2 separate regions of the Homo sapiens genome follow, and region 2 is linked to region 1. The links are contacts of gene promoters, found by promoter capture Hi-C in blood cells and fetal thymus (Javierre and others, 2016). All regions are on one chromosome and are shown on one strand. Each heading gives the region's core, a stretch centred on a gene start or on the middle of the fragment in contact. The rest is flanking DNA. Distances are from core to core; before and after follow the strand shown. Region 1 holds the start of PER2 (period circadian regulator 2). Region 2 overlaps LOC105373960 (a long non-coding RNA gene).

What was found. Contacts are between HindIII fragments. The CHiCAGO score rates a contact against its expected background, and 5 or more counts as called.
Region 2: a contact is called between a fragment that was not itself captured here and the fragment with the promoter of PER2 in region 1, in 2 of 17 cell types (fetal thymus and neutrophils). The highest score is 6.9, in fetal thymus.

What each region holds. Positions count from the first base shown.
Region 1 is chr2:238,285,371-238,291,851 of GRCh38, reverse strand. It overlaps PER2 (period circadian regulator 2), which reads left to right and starts at 3,242. Exons shown (of 23, transcript NM_022817.3): 1 at 3,242-3,503. It overlaps LOC112268433 (a long non-coding RNA gene), which reads right to left and starts at 3,983. Exons shown (of 3, transcript XR_002959458.2): 1 at 3,955-3,983. RefSeq lists enhancers at 1,679-1,728, 2,803-3,697, 3,782-4,304 and silencers at 2,495-2,764, 3,105-3,254. The HindIII fragment of the contact is 4,985 bases long and covers 251-5,235 here.
Region 2 is chr2:237,926,514-237,932,994 of GRCh38, reverse strand. The region is part of intron 1 of LOC105373960 (a long non-coding RNA gene); the gene reads left to right. Among named protein-coding and RNA genes, the nearest start is that of UBE2F-SCLY, 37 kb to the left of the region's middle. The HindIII fragment of the contact is 4,646 bases long and covers 1,422-6,067 here.

The DNA of each region.
Region 1 (6,481 bases), core at 1,993-4,492:
CCTCGGGTCACTAGAGGCAAGTTGTCCTTGTCTCACCCTGAGACCCTGGACACAGGTGCCCGCGCCCTTGAGGTCACCTCTGTGAGCTGGCTGAGGGTCTCCCTGCCAGGAGCTGCCACCATGCCAAGCTGGGGTCAGCCGTAGGTCAGCGCTGGGTTCAAGGGAGGCTGGAGAGTAAGGGTTGGGCATTATCATCTCCAATGTCCCTAGGCCCAAGAAAGGGGCTCCAGCACTAGGGGGCCAGAAAGCTTGACAGTGTCCCCTCCATCTCTTTAGAGAGACTTTGCTGGCCACCACCTCCTCCATTTGCAGAGGGAATTCTCTTCCTAGCCGCCTGTCCTTTGGCCCTCCAGCTAGCCAACCCGCAAACCATGCCACCTACAATGAGAGGAAGCAGTGATCAGCACAGTTGCCTGGTACATAGTAGTTGCTCAGTAAACAATTGGCTGGGTGCATGAGTGAATGAGAGGGCCAGTGAGTGGACTGGCAAGGGCATGGAGGCCTGGGTGCAGAGAGGCCCTACAGGCAGGCCCAGACATAGATGGGTGGGCCAACTTGGGCCAGGCTTACTGGTGGAAACAGGCTGGTGGGAGTGGGTGGAGCAGGGGCCAAGCAGCCTTTAGCTGGGAGGCCAGCTCCTCCCACTGGCAGCATTCCCAAGGTAGGTGGGGACCCTGGCTTACCACTCCACCTCCACCCCCAACTAAAGGACTAGCTGTCTCCTAGCCAGCCTGCCTCCCACAGTGCCAACAGCAATTCCCCTATCCAAGAGCTCTGAGCTCCGTGCTGGAGGTGACAGCTGGCCAGTGTGGGCTGGCTAGGAAAGGGTTCATCCCCCTTCCTTCTCCAATCTGACTGCCCCAATTTGCGCTCTCTCTCTGTCACCATCTTGGTTCAGCAAGAATGGCATCCATGCACTTGGCCTGATTGTAGGAGCTCATCCCCTGAGCGCTGTCCTCTGTTGGAGCTGGGATGGAGGCTTCTGTCCATGGCTGTCCTATTCCCTCAGGACCTACACACCACAACTTAGACAAAATTGCCTCTGAATCTGCCTCCTCCCCCCTTCTACATCACCAACTCCTTACAAGCAGGGATGCAGTGAGATGTATTTTTGCATGCCCCTCAACACTCAGGTGTCAACAAGTATTTGTGGAGTGTACACAAATTTCCAATAATAGGAAAGAAGAAACTGGCTGTGAATCACTGAAAATAGATGAGATTCTGAAGAGTCCTAGAGCCCAAAGCACTTGATAATTTCTAAAAGAATTGATTTCAATATATTTCTACCAGATTTATTGGTGGAAATAAAAAAGGCTACATTTAGGGAGGAAATGTGACATCAGGTAGCAGGCTGAATATGGAGCAAGACCCAGCAAAAGCATGAAGAAGAATCTCGGTAAGGTGTGGATGAGCTGTCTGTTTACTCTTGTTTCCAGAACAATGGAGCTCCCCATTGACGTCAATGGGAGGGAAGAAACAAAAGAGCCTTTGGGTGTGTGCAGGGCGCAGCAGCCGGGCCTGGGTTTGCTTGGCATTTGTGTGTGTATGTGTTAGGGAGAGGGGGCGGGGAGTGTGTCGAGGTGTCAATGTCAGAGGAACAGGAGGAGGGGCCACCTGACTGAGTGTGTGAACAGCATGCAGGCCTCCCGGGGCTTCTGTGGGAAGGGCTGCCCCGATGAACTTGGTATTTGCCCTGGTTTGCATCTGAGAAGTTGCACACACACCTTGTCAAGTAGAAGAGAAGGAGTTATCACACTCAGGAATTCCTGATGTGGGTTCATAACTTTTCCTTCTGTCCCATCCCTGGTCCCCAGGTGAGTCCAGGTAAAGAAGAACAAGAAGAGTAAAGAGAGATGCTGCGGGCTCCAGCTTCTTGGACAGTCTCGCCTTCCCCATGAGAGCCTACACATTCAGAGCCTGCTGCGTGGGAGCCTGAAAGCTCCTTCCTGTCCTGTAAGTCTCAGGCTTCTACCCAGACCCGGGGAAATTGTACTCTTTCTCCTGACACTTTAAATGGAAGTTTAGAGGCTCCACATGCCCCACACAATGCTTACCGAAACAAGGTGATGCAGGGTCCCGCGCTGTCTCCCAGGACAACCTCCTACCCCTGGCTCCTGCGTCTCTACGGCTTGCACCGTTGTAAGGCGTCCCTTTCTCAGGGCCCATCTTACCCGCCTTGGAAGTGCTGCCTTTCTCACGGAGCCTGTGGGGATAGCTCTGGTTAATTTATAGCCCACATCGCCCAATTTAGCATTTGATTAAGTTTCCTTTTTATGAGATAGTCCTTTCTCCCTAGTGATGCGCTTGGGGGCAGGGACAACATCATTTCTTTCTTTTGTACCTCCCCAGAGTAACAATGACTCTATTTCCTGAACCAAAAATTGCAACACGTGGTCTCAAAAATAAGAAAGGTCACTTGGTAGCTGCCGGGACAAGTGTCGACCACAGGCACCTCAGAGGCCCGGGTGGGCGTGCCCCCGGAGCTGCTGCAGGGCGGTGCTGCCACCTTCTCCTGGGCTGCTCCGGGGCCCCGCGATGAATGAGTGAGTGAATGAGTAAATGAATGAATGTGAATGCGTGAATGAAGCATGCCGCGCGGACTTTCCCGCGGCCCTGGCCGCTGGGGGCGCGCCTCTGGCCGGTGGCCGGAGGTGGAGGTCTCCCTCGTCCGGCTTCGGCGCGCCGGGTCTGCCAGGCCGGCCGGAGGTGCGCAGGAGCCCCGCGCCCAGCTCCCCCGCCCGCAATGGTACGCGCCACTCCGCGCTCCCCGAGCTGGCGGGCTTGAGGGCGTAGTGAATGGAAGGCGCCGACGCCGGAAGTGGATGAGACCACTAGGGAGGACGACGGGTAGCACGAACGCGCCGCGTCTCCATTGAGGAACCGACGAGGTGAACATGGAGTTCCATGTGCGTCTTATGTAAAAAGAGCGACGGGCGCGGCCACCAATGGGCGCGCGGCGTTCGTAGGCCCCGCCCCTCATGTATGCAGATGAGACGGAGTCGCGGCCAATGGCGGAGGCCGGGGGCGGGCGCGGCGCGCGCGGTCACGTTTTCCACTATGTGACAGCGGCGACTCGGCCGCGGCGGAGGCGGCGGCGCTGAGGGGATACGTGCAGCTGTGGGCGGCGGCGGCGGGCGCGGGGCCGGGCGGACAGAGCCGCGAGTCGGCGGAGGGACCGGCGGACGGGCTGACGCGGGCGCGGCCGGCGGTAAGTGGCGCGGCGCGGCCCCGCTGCGGCTTACGTAACCGCCGCCGGCGCGCGGGCCTCGGGCAGGTCGGGGTCCCAGCGCCGGCTCGGGCAGCGGAGGCGCCGCCGGAAGTTCCTTGGGCTGCTGGACTCCTCGGCTTGAAACGGCGCCGGCGTGGGGGCGTGTGCCCTTGGCCCTGTCCCAGGTGGAGAGTGGTCGAGCCGCGCGCAGGGTGCGCTCGTTTGAACTGCGGTGACACCGAGGGTTGGGGACTCGAACCCCCGCTTCGCAGCTCAGGAGCCTGAGGTCCGAAAGGTGAGGCAGCGTGTGTAGGGCACCGAGCTACCGAGTGACTGCGCGCGGGCTGCGGTTCCGTGGGCGATTCTCTTTTGGGAACCCTCCCTCCCCTCGCATGGGGAAGGCCAAGGAAACCAAGGGTCAGCGCAGCCGGCCCTGGGATCTGGAGGACCCTCGGGGAGCTGACTGCCTCTTCTGAGGCCACAGGGCTAAGTCCTGGGCTGGGGAAGGGCCATGGAGGGGCGCTGATCTAGGAGCTTTTCCTGGACACCCACGGGTCTCCTGGAATGGGTGATCAGAGGGACAAGGAAGTCCCGGTGCCAAGCCAGGCCTGGGAACCTGAGGGCGGGGAGACCCTCTAATGTTCGCCCCTTTGCCTCCCCTGGACCACCCTGTATTAATTCCCTTTCCCCGGACTGGATAGAAGGGAATGGGGGTGTCCACTCTTTGGTGCAGCAGTCGCGCCTACCTTCTGGGATGTACTTTGGCTGCCAAGTCCCAGACATAGACCAGGGGGTGGGAGGTGGCCTGCTTCCCCCTTCAGGAAGGCCAGGGTAAGGGATGACGAGTTGGTTGCCAGGGTTTCTGTAACCTACACAGAAGGAACCCGTTTGGAAAGCTGATTCATACAGAACAACAGAGCCAGAAGGCACCCTGAAAATCACCCAGAGTAACCCCTCAGCCTGACAGATGAGCAAACTGAGGCCCAGGCCCAGGCTGTCTGCAGGATCTTCCCATCGTCCTGGGGCAGGATGAGCTTCAGAGGTTCAGTGATGGCCTCCACTTGCGTGCTGAATCCTGGGTGGGCTGGAATTTGGGAGGAAGGGCCTTAAGTCCGGGAAATGTGTTAAGAACCCCACACGGTGGCTAAAGCCCCACATGGACGCCTCTCACCTGTATATGGCACAGCAGGACTGCTAGACTTCTTGGCCCACCCTCTACCCCCACCTGGGGCTTCTGGTCCCAGGCTGGGTGTGCCTGAGAAGAAAACAGGACTCTACCTGAAGGCTTTATTTGGAAATTGAGTTTTAAAATACAAGGTGAATTGATTTTTGTGTGCTATATGACTATAATGAAGAAAGGGACTCCGTTTTTTTTGAGTGGAAGCTGTGTGGTGTGCCAGCGCGGGGATGGCACCGTGGGTGTTTGCAGTTATCTGTCACTGTCGCCTTGGTATGATTCATTGGTACAGAACTAACGCAGCCCTGGCTTTCTGTGGAGACTGGAGTGCCAGGTGGGAAGGGGGAGCCCTGTGTCAGCCAGCTGGCTGCTGCTGGCTCCCAGTCTGGGCCTCAGTTTCCTTGTTTGTTTGGAGGGGCTCAGATTGGGCAGTCTCAGAGGTCTACTTTAATTCCCAGGTTTTTGGTTTTCTGTTACCCTACAGATGATTTTTCCCAGGTTTCTCGCAGGAGACAGAGGCTTCTGATATGCTCTTGCCTTTGGGCCAAGTAATGTTCTCCTGTGAGCCACGTCTGCAGTGCTTACAAGGAAAAAGGAAAGATTCCTCTCCTGTGCACTACTTCTCGTACCCACTGAACTTTCTCAAAAATACTGGTAGTCACACTGCTGTTTTTAAGCGATGATGTAACTTCACCAGGACTCGGCAAACCACGGCTCTGTCAGGTCATTGAACAGCTGGCAGGGCCACTTGGCGTTTAGTCAGAAGAAAGACAGGCTCTGGGTGTGCTTTTACCTTTTGAAAACTACTCTGTTTGGCAGAGGGAGCCAGAAACACACAATTCCATAAGCTTGGCAGAGACTGTCGCCACACTTCTGGAAAGCTGGCCCACCTTGGGAACCAAGGGAGAATTAGTCTAGAGGGGGCCTCTGATGGACCCCTCCCCCAGCCCACGCACTCCCCCCTAGGGACCAGGCCCTCCTTTCAACTCATTATGCTCATCGTGTACACATTTGTAACAAGTTTGTTACCATATCTCCAAGTCTAGAGCAAATTAGAAGCAGTAAATGAATAGCAGTGACTGGTGACAGGAGTCAAGGCCACTTGGTTTTCAGAGACTGGTAGTTCCCAAGACAGAGTGAGCTGCCGTGCTGAACCCTCACCGGCCTCGAAGGGTTCCTCGTGCTCTTCCTGGGGTGACATAGAGGAATCAGAATCCACTCTTTAAGAAACCAGGTACAGGAGGAGCAGATGCCTGAGCTTCCTGCAATTCGGAGTAGCTCAGTCCCTGACCACCGGGGAGCTAGGAGGCTGACACTTTTGCCTTTATTTGCTTTAAAGTCTTGTAGTTCTAAAAATGTAGGGATTTAAAAGTCTGAATTGAGATCATTGAAGGTGTCCTAGTGAGGCCAAGACAATGCCTCCCCGGTGCACCTCCTTCCCTCCATATTTGGATGGCTGCGGTCACATTTTCCTCAGTTACCCAACCGTTGCCATGGAGAGTGCGGCTGTTTATTTAGCAGGACAAACATTTTCTCAGGATTACAGCAGGCTGGCCTCAGGGAGTTGGCTCCTACCAGGAAGTAGAAAACATGTTAGAATATTTGGGGTTGTAAAATCCTGCAGGGCTTGCAGAGACAGTACATGCTGTATGAGCCCTATTATGTAAAGTTCGAAAACAGGCAGAATTCACTAGGCTGCAAGAAGCCAAGCTAGTGAGTCCCCGCGGGGTAGATGGTGGCTGGGAGGGCCACCAGGAGCCTCTGGGGGGCTGGCACTGTCCTGCCTCTGGTGACATGTGACATGGCATGTTGTTTGTGGATATACATCAAGCTGTGACCTCATGAGGTGGGACTCCTCTGGTGATTGAACACTGATTTCTGATTTCCACAAAAAATGCTTTTCCGCCTTAGGTTTGCAGGTATTGAGTACAGTAAGACTTTACCAGTCCTGGCAGTGGCAGTGGAGGCTGGAACTGGGTCCCAGGCTTGCTTTCGTTCCTAATTTTTAAACACTATTATGGAAAGTATGAGTATCTCTGAAAGTGGGGAGGATAGGGTAACGAACCCATGCGACCCCACCAGCCAGTAGTCTCTGC
Region 2 (6,481 bases), core at 2,495-4,994, 360 kb after region 1:
TATTTTCTAATTTTATTTTTGGTTGACTCATGAATTATTTAGAAGTGTGATATCCAGTTTCACATACTTGGGGATTTTCCAGAGATCTTTCTGTTTCTGGTTTATCATTTGATTCCACTGTGGTCAGAAAACATACTTAGTACAGCTTGCATTCTTCAAAAACATTTTTGAGACTTTATGACCTGCATTACAGGGGTGTCGAATCTTTTGGCTTCCCTGGGCCAATTTGGAAGAAGGAGAATTGTCTTGGGCCACACATAAAATACACTAACACTAACAATAGCTGATGAGCTAAAAAAAAATGCAATAAACATATTATTATTATTATTATTATTTTTGAGACAGAGTCTCACTCTGTCACCCAGGCTGGAGTGCAGTGGCATGATTTCAGTTCACTGCAACTCCACCTCCAGGGTTCAAGTGATACTTGTGTCTCAGCCTCCCAAGTAGCTGGGACTACAGGCATGCGCCACCATGCCCAGTTAATTTTTGTGTTTTTAGTAGAGACAGGGTTTCACCATGTTGGCCAGGCTGGTCTCGAACTCCTAACCTCAAGTGGTCCACCCACCGCAGCCTCCCAAAGTGTCTCATAATGTTTTAAGAAAGTTTATGAATTTGCGTTGGGCTACATTCAAAGCTATCTTGGGCCACAAGTGGCCCACAGGCTGCGGATTGGATAAGCTTGGCCTAGAATATGGTCTATCTCTGTAAATGGGTCCAGATACAAGCTCAGCAATTGCTGTTCTAAAATTCTGCACCTTCTATGTTTGTTTGTTTATTTATTTATTTATGTTTTTGAGATAGAGTCTCGCTCTGTTGCCCATGCTGGAGTGCAGTGGCACAATCTTGGCTCACTGCAACCTCTGCCTCCTGGGTTCAAGCGATTCTCCTGTCTCAGCCTCCCGAGTAGCTAGGACTACAGGTGCGTGCCACCACACCTGGCTAATTGTTGTATTTTTAGAAGAGACGGGGTTTCGCCATGTTGGCCAGGCTGGTCTCAAACTCCTGACCTCAGATGGTCTGCCCACCTCAGCCTCCCAAAGTGCTGGGAATACAGCATGAGCCACCGCACCCGGCCGGCACCTTCTACGTTTATTGTTAATTGAAAAACAGTCTTGAGCTGTGCCAAGGATGCCTGGGGATGAATAGAACTGTTTGGAGCATGTGCCTAACCTGTAACTGTGGCACTGCCACTGCAATGCATTGTGGGGGGTGGGCTGCCCCCACTTACATGACAACTGTGACAATCATTGCTCTGGAATAATCAGGATTCTCATTTGAGACTCCAGCTGGCTTTGATATTTCGTTTCTAGAGACTCACCCAGCAGTGTAAGAAAATAAACAAACTCTGAGAGGCTGTGAGTTTTGAATTGCAGAGGGTAAAACCAGAGCCAAAAGTTCCAGAGAAAATATTTCAAGCTTCGGGTGTGTTTGAGGAACTGAGAAGTCACAGAATAGCTGGAAAAGAGGATGTAGTGTAAAGTAAACTCAGCTGCACAGACATATGGTCTGTTGGTGGAACTGGAGTCCGACCAGATAATGATCATCAGCGAGGCAGTGCTCTGAAGAAGCCTCTCATCCACAGGTGGGGGTCCGGGCTGCTGCAAACAGTTGCGCAGGTGTGCGCTGCACAACTCAGGGCCACCGTTAACATCACACATAATGGCACATGGCAAAAGGTCCCATTAGGTACAGCCCTGTGGCTTTACCATGTTAAATGCCTTTCGTCTTTCTGGGCCAGTCACTGTGAATCTGAGTGCCTGTGAGGGCACAAACCCTGCACAGTTCCTCTGCTCCTGGCAGTGTAGCATCCCATAACTCCTCCCCAGGGCCCTGCCAGTGCCAGCTCAAAAATCTCCCTGTGGGAGGGTATGGCAGAAAGACCCTAGGGTTCATGCCCTATATAATCCCTTCCTCTTGAGTGTGAGTGGGACCTGTGACTTGCTTATAACCAGTAGAATATAGCACAGGTGACAGGATGTCACTCCCATGACTGAGTTACTATAGATACCTAGACAAGCCTCCATCTTACCAGCACACATTGGAGATTCTCCTTCCTGGCTTGATGAAATAAGGACCGTGTTATGTTATAAGTTCACCTAACAAAAAACCACTAACAAGGACCTGAGGGGGACCTTCAGTCAGAGGCCAGCAAAAGCCAGGGCCCCTTGGTCACATGCCCCACCCATTCAGTCCACTGGGCTGCACTGAGCTTGTGCACCAGCTCAGCCCGTAGCTGGGCCATGTGTGCCCCAGCCTGCCTGTGTTATAGCTCCTACCCACATTTGGTGGTTCCTGAACTCTTGTCTCATGTCCAGGAAGAATGAGGTTACCCTGACCATCGAAGGATGAGGAGGGCAGATAATAACTGTATTGAGTGATGGAAAAGTTCTCAGTGGAGAGGGGATGCAAGGGTTGTCCTCCACTCTAAGTTGGGTGGTCTCTCCTTCAGTGTGGCTGGGTCTGGGATTTTATAGGCTCAGAATGGGGAGTGTGTGCTGATTGGTTTGTGAGTATGCAAAAAAGGTTAAAACAAAGGCACTGCTCAAAGGTGGGCATGACAGTGTAAAAAACCAATTAGGGTAGGGTAGGTTTCTGTAAAATAGGTGAAGGGTGGGGATCAATCAGAGGAAAGTGCACCAAACGGGAAGACGGGTTCTCAATCTGGTCCGTGGATTTGACTTGTAGCTTGGCTTTCAGGTTTTAAACTGTCTTTGTCTTGGAGGTAGGGTTTCACTGGGGTTCTGCCCCATCTGCCTAGGCATGTGTCTGCCTCCTGCATCTGCAAGAGGAGGATGTGACCCAGCGGACACCTGGTGACAGCCTCATGAGACCCTGCCATCTCAGAGGACATAGCTGGGCCACGCCGGGACTTCTCACCAGCCGGGAAATATGTTACCCAGCGATATAAATGAATGCAGGGGGTCTTGAGAACACAGTCCAGTTGGAAGCAGAAAATAGGTGACTCGTCTTCAGATGGTGAACATGCTATTTGTACTTCAATTGTGTGTTTAGCTGGGGTGGCTTGGGGGTGCTGGTGGAAATTACAGTAGGCAAAGTCCCTGTGGGCCACCCCAGGACCCAGCAACTAGCCCAGCAGCCTGGAGGAGTGGGAGGCATGGCTGGGCCCTGGCCTGGGGAAGGAAGGGGATATTTGCTTGGAACATTCTAGTACAATTAATTGGAATGAAAGTGTTGTCATTTTAAGTTTCTGACAGTTTGGTTAGGTTAGACTTTAAAAATCGTAACGTGGCCGGGCATGGTGGTTCATGCCTATAATCCCAACACTTTTGGGAGGCCAAGGTGGGTGGGTCACTTGAGGCCAAGAGCTTGAGACCAGCCTGGCCAACATGGCAAAACCCTGTCTTTACTAAAAAATACAAAAATTAAAGGCGGGGCGTGGTGGCTCACGCCTGTAATCCCAGCACTTTGGGAGGCCGAGGAGGGCAGATCACGAGGTCAGGAGATCGTGACCATCCTGGCTAACACGGTGAAACCTCGTCTCTACTAAAAAATGGAAAAAAATTAGCTGGGCGTGGTGACAGGCACCTGTAGTCCCAGCTACTTGGGAGGCTGAGGCAGGAGAATGGCATGAACCTGGGAGGCGGAGCTTGCAATGAGCCAAGATAATGCCACTGCACTCCAGCCTGGGCGACAGAGTGAGACTCCGTCTCAAAAAAAAAAAAAAAAAAAAAAAACACACAAAAACAAAAATTAGATGGGCATGGTGGTATGCACCTGTAATTCCAGCTACTCAGAAGGCTGAGGCACAAGAATCACCTGAACCCAGGAGGCAGAGGTTGCAGTGAGCTGAGATTGTGCCAGTGCACTCCAGCCTGGGCAACAGAGGGAGACCCCATCTCAGCAAAAACAACAAAAAAAGAGGATACACAAATTTCCTTCCTAACCAGTACCCCAGTAACTTTCCTCTGAGTCAACCAATGTTGTTTCTCGTTTGACCTGCTAGAAAATTTCAGTGGACAAATTCGATTATTTTTATGTTCCTTTCACCTAACAGAATTTTGTGGGGTTAATTCCACATCAGTATTTACAGATCTGCGCTGTGCTTGTTAGTTCGTGATTGTGTTTTGTACTGGTGGATGCGTGGTTCCCTGCCTCACCCGCCCAGGAAAAAACATTCAAATGATCTTCTAGAAAAAGCCTCGGTTCAAGGTCAAGATGGTCTCAATTCATGCACAGCTGAAGCTATCGACTCTCACTTTCTGTGGTGACAAAGCCAAGTCCCTGTCAATTACACCCCAGAACCTGGAAGGCTCCTGCCGAAACCCACCCGATTGTCCCATAGAACTGATGTTTATAGGCCAGGTGCAATGGCTCACGCCTGTAATCCCAGCATTTTGGGAGGCTGAGGTGGGCTTGAGGCCAGGAGTTCGAGACCAGCCTGGCCAACATGGCGAAACCCCGTCTCTACTAAAAATGCAAAAACTAAAAAAAATTAGCCAGGTGTGGTAGTGTGCGCCTGTAATCCCAGCTACTTGGGAGGCTGAGGCGTGAGAATCACCTGAACCCAGGTTGCAGCGAGCCAAGACGGTGTCACTGCACCCTAGGCTGGGCAACAGAGTGAAACTGTCTCAAAACAAAACAAAACAAATCAAGACTGATGTTTATAGTTTATTTTGAGTAAACATAGAAATTGCGCCTCCCAGTCTTGAAATTTGAGAAAGTTATGTTTGTTTTTTCTGAGCTCCTTTCTCAGGAGACCAAGCAGCTGGCCTCCCAGATAGTATCAAGAAGCTGAAACTCACCAGTCACTGCATTTGGACAATGAGAAGCCAAACCCCTCACCTCTGATGACTGCCTAACTGGCCACCTGCTCCCTGTTAACTGACTCCTCTTCCTTACCCCTCCCTAATTCCTGCTTTCCTGCATGTGGTTACGTTTCTGCTGTACCAACCCCTAACTGTAGTCAGTCGGGATGGATTTGAGACGTATACCCCAAATCCTTGGCTGCAGCACCCAATTAAAGCCTTCTTCCAGGGCAATAATTGTGGTTTCAGTGATGGGCGTGGCAAGCACTAGGACCTAGACCAAATTCCTGGTGTTTTGGTAACACTGCCAGCCATGCCAAAGTCCCAGTTTGCCCAAGAAGACTTGTAGGAGCAGCTTTGAGGGTTTGTAACCCTCAAAGTGGATCTCCCAAAGCACAGAAAGAGGCTGCCCCAGAGCTAGTTCTCTGCCTCCTGGAGAGAGATCCATTGCTACTTGCAAAAGATGGACTGCCCTGCCCTACCTGCCTACTTCCCCTAGCCCCCATCCCGCCCCTTTCCTCTTCCAGCCTCTGGTGGGATCAGGTGTGGGGTGCACACCTGTAACCATGGAATTCCCTGGGGAGAGCCAGAGGTATCAGTGGCTTTGGTCTTCATCCCATGGGTTTCTACTTAGAGCCTGGTGCCATCTTTTAGCTCTGGGGGTTTGGGGTCCTGGTGTTTCTCCTGATCCTTCCTAGGAAGAGCACAGGGTGTTCATAGGTTGTCATAGGCTGAGCCAGGTTGTCATAGGTTGAGCTCTGGTGCAGCTCCAGGGGTGAAGACCCATCATCTTCCTGGTGCCACCTGCCCATTCTAGAACAAAGAATCCATCAAGTATTGATCAGGGTTTCAGCGGCCAGGAGGCTGGACAGCTCCATGTGAACTCCTACCCAGCGTGTTTGGCCTTCTCAAGAAAGAGGGTCATTTTTGCAAAAGTACTTGATCGGTTTTCTCCAGTGCGTCTCTAGAAACTTTGATATTCAAATTACTGTCTTTTGAACCACCTCCACAATCATCTGTGTTGCGTTTGAATTTCAGTGTTGGGTATTTTCATTCTACAACCTACAGGGACACTGACTCACCAAACTGATGGAACAGGGACAGCCACTGTTTTTATCTTTTTAAAATAACATTTTATTTTAGAACAGTTTGAGATTTACAGAACAGTTGCAAATAGAGTACAGAGAGCTGCCATATACGCCACACTGTTAACTCTATCACTAACATTTTATGTGAATAAGGTACATTTGTTACTATTAATAAACCACTATTCAAATGCATTATTGTTAACTAAAGCTTATATTTTATTCCTATTTCCTTAGTTTTTTCCTAATATTCTTTTTATATTCAGGAGCCCATCCAGGATACCACATGACATTCAGTTGTCATGTTTCCTTGAGTTCCTCTTGGCTGTGACAGTTTTTCAGACTTCTTTTGTTTTTATGATCTTGACAGTTTTGAGGAGTGCTGGCATATATATATATATATATATATATATATATATATATAATTTTTTTTTTTTGAGACAGGGTCTCACTCTGTCATCCAGGCTGGAATGCAATGGAGTAATCTTGGCTCACTGCAACCTCCGCCTCCAGGGCTTAGGTGATCCACCTCAGCCTCCCGAGTAGCTAAGACTACAAGCACACATTACCACGCCCGGTTAATTTTTGTATTTTTTGTAGATATGGGGTTTCACCATGTTACCAAGG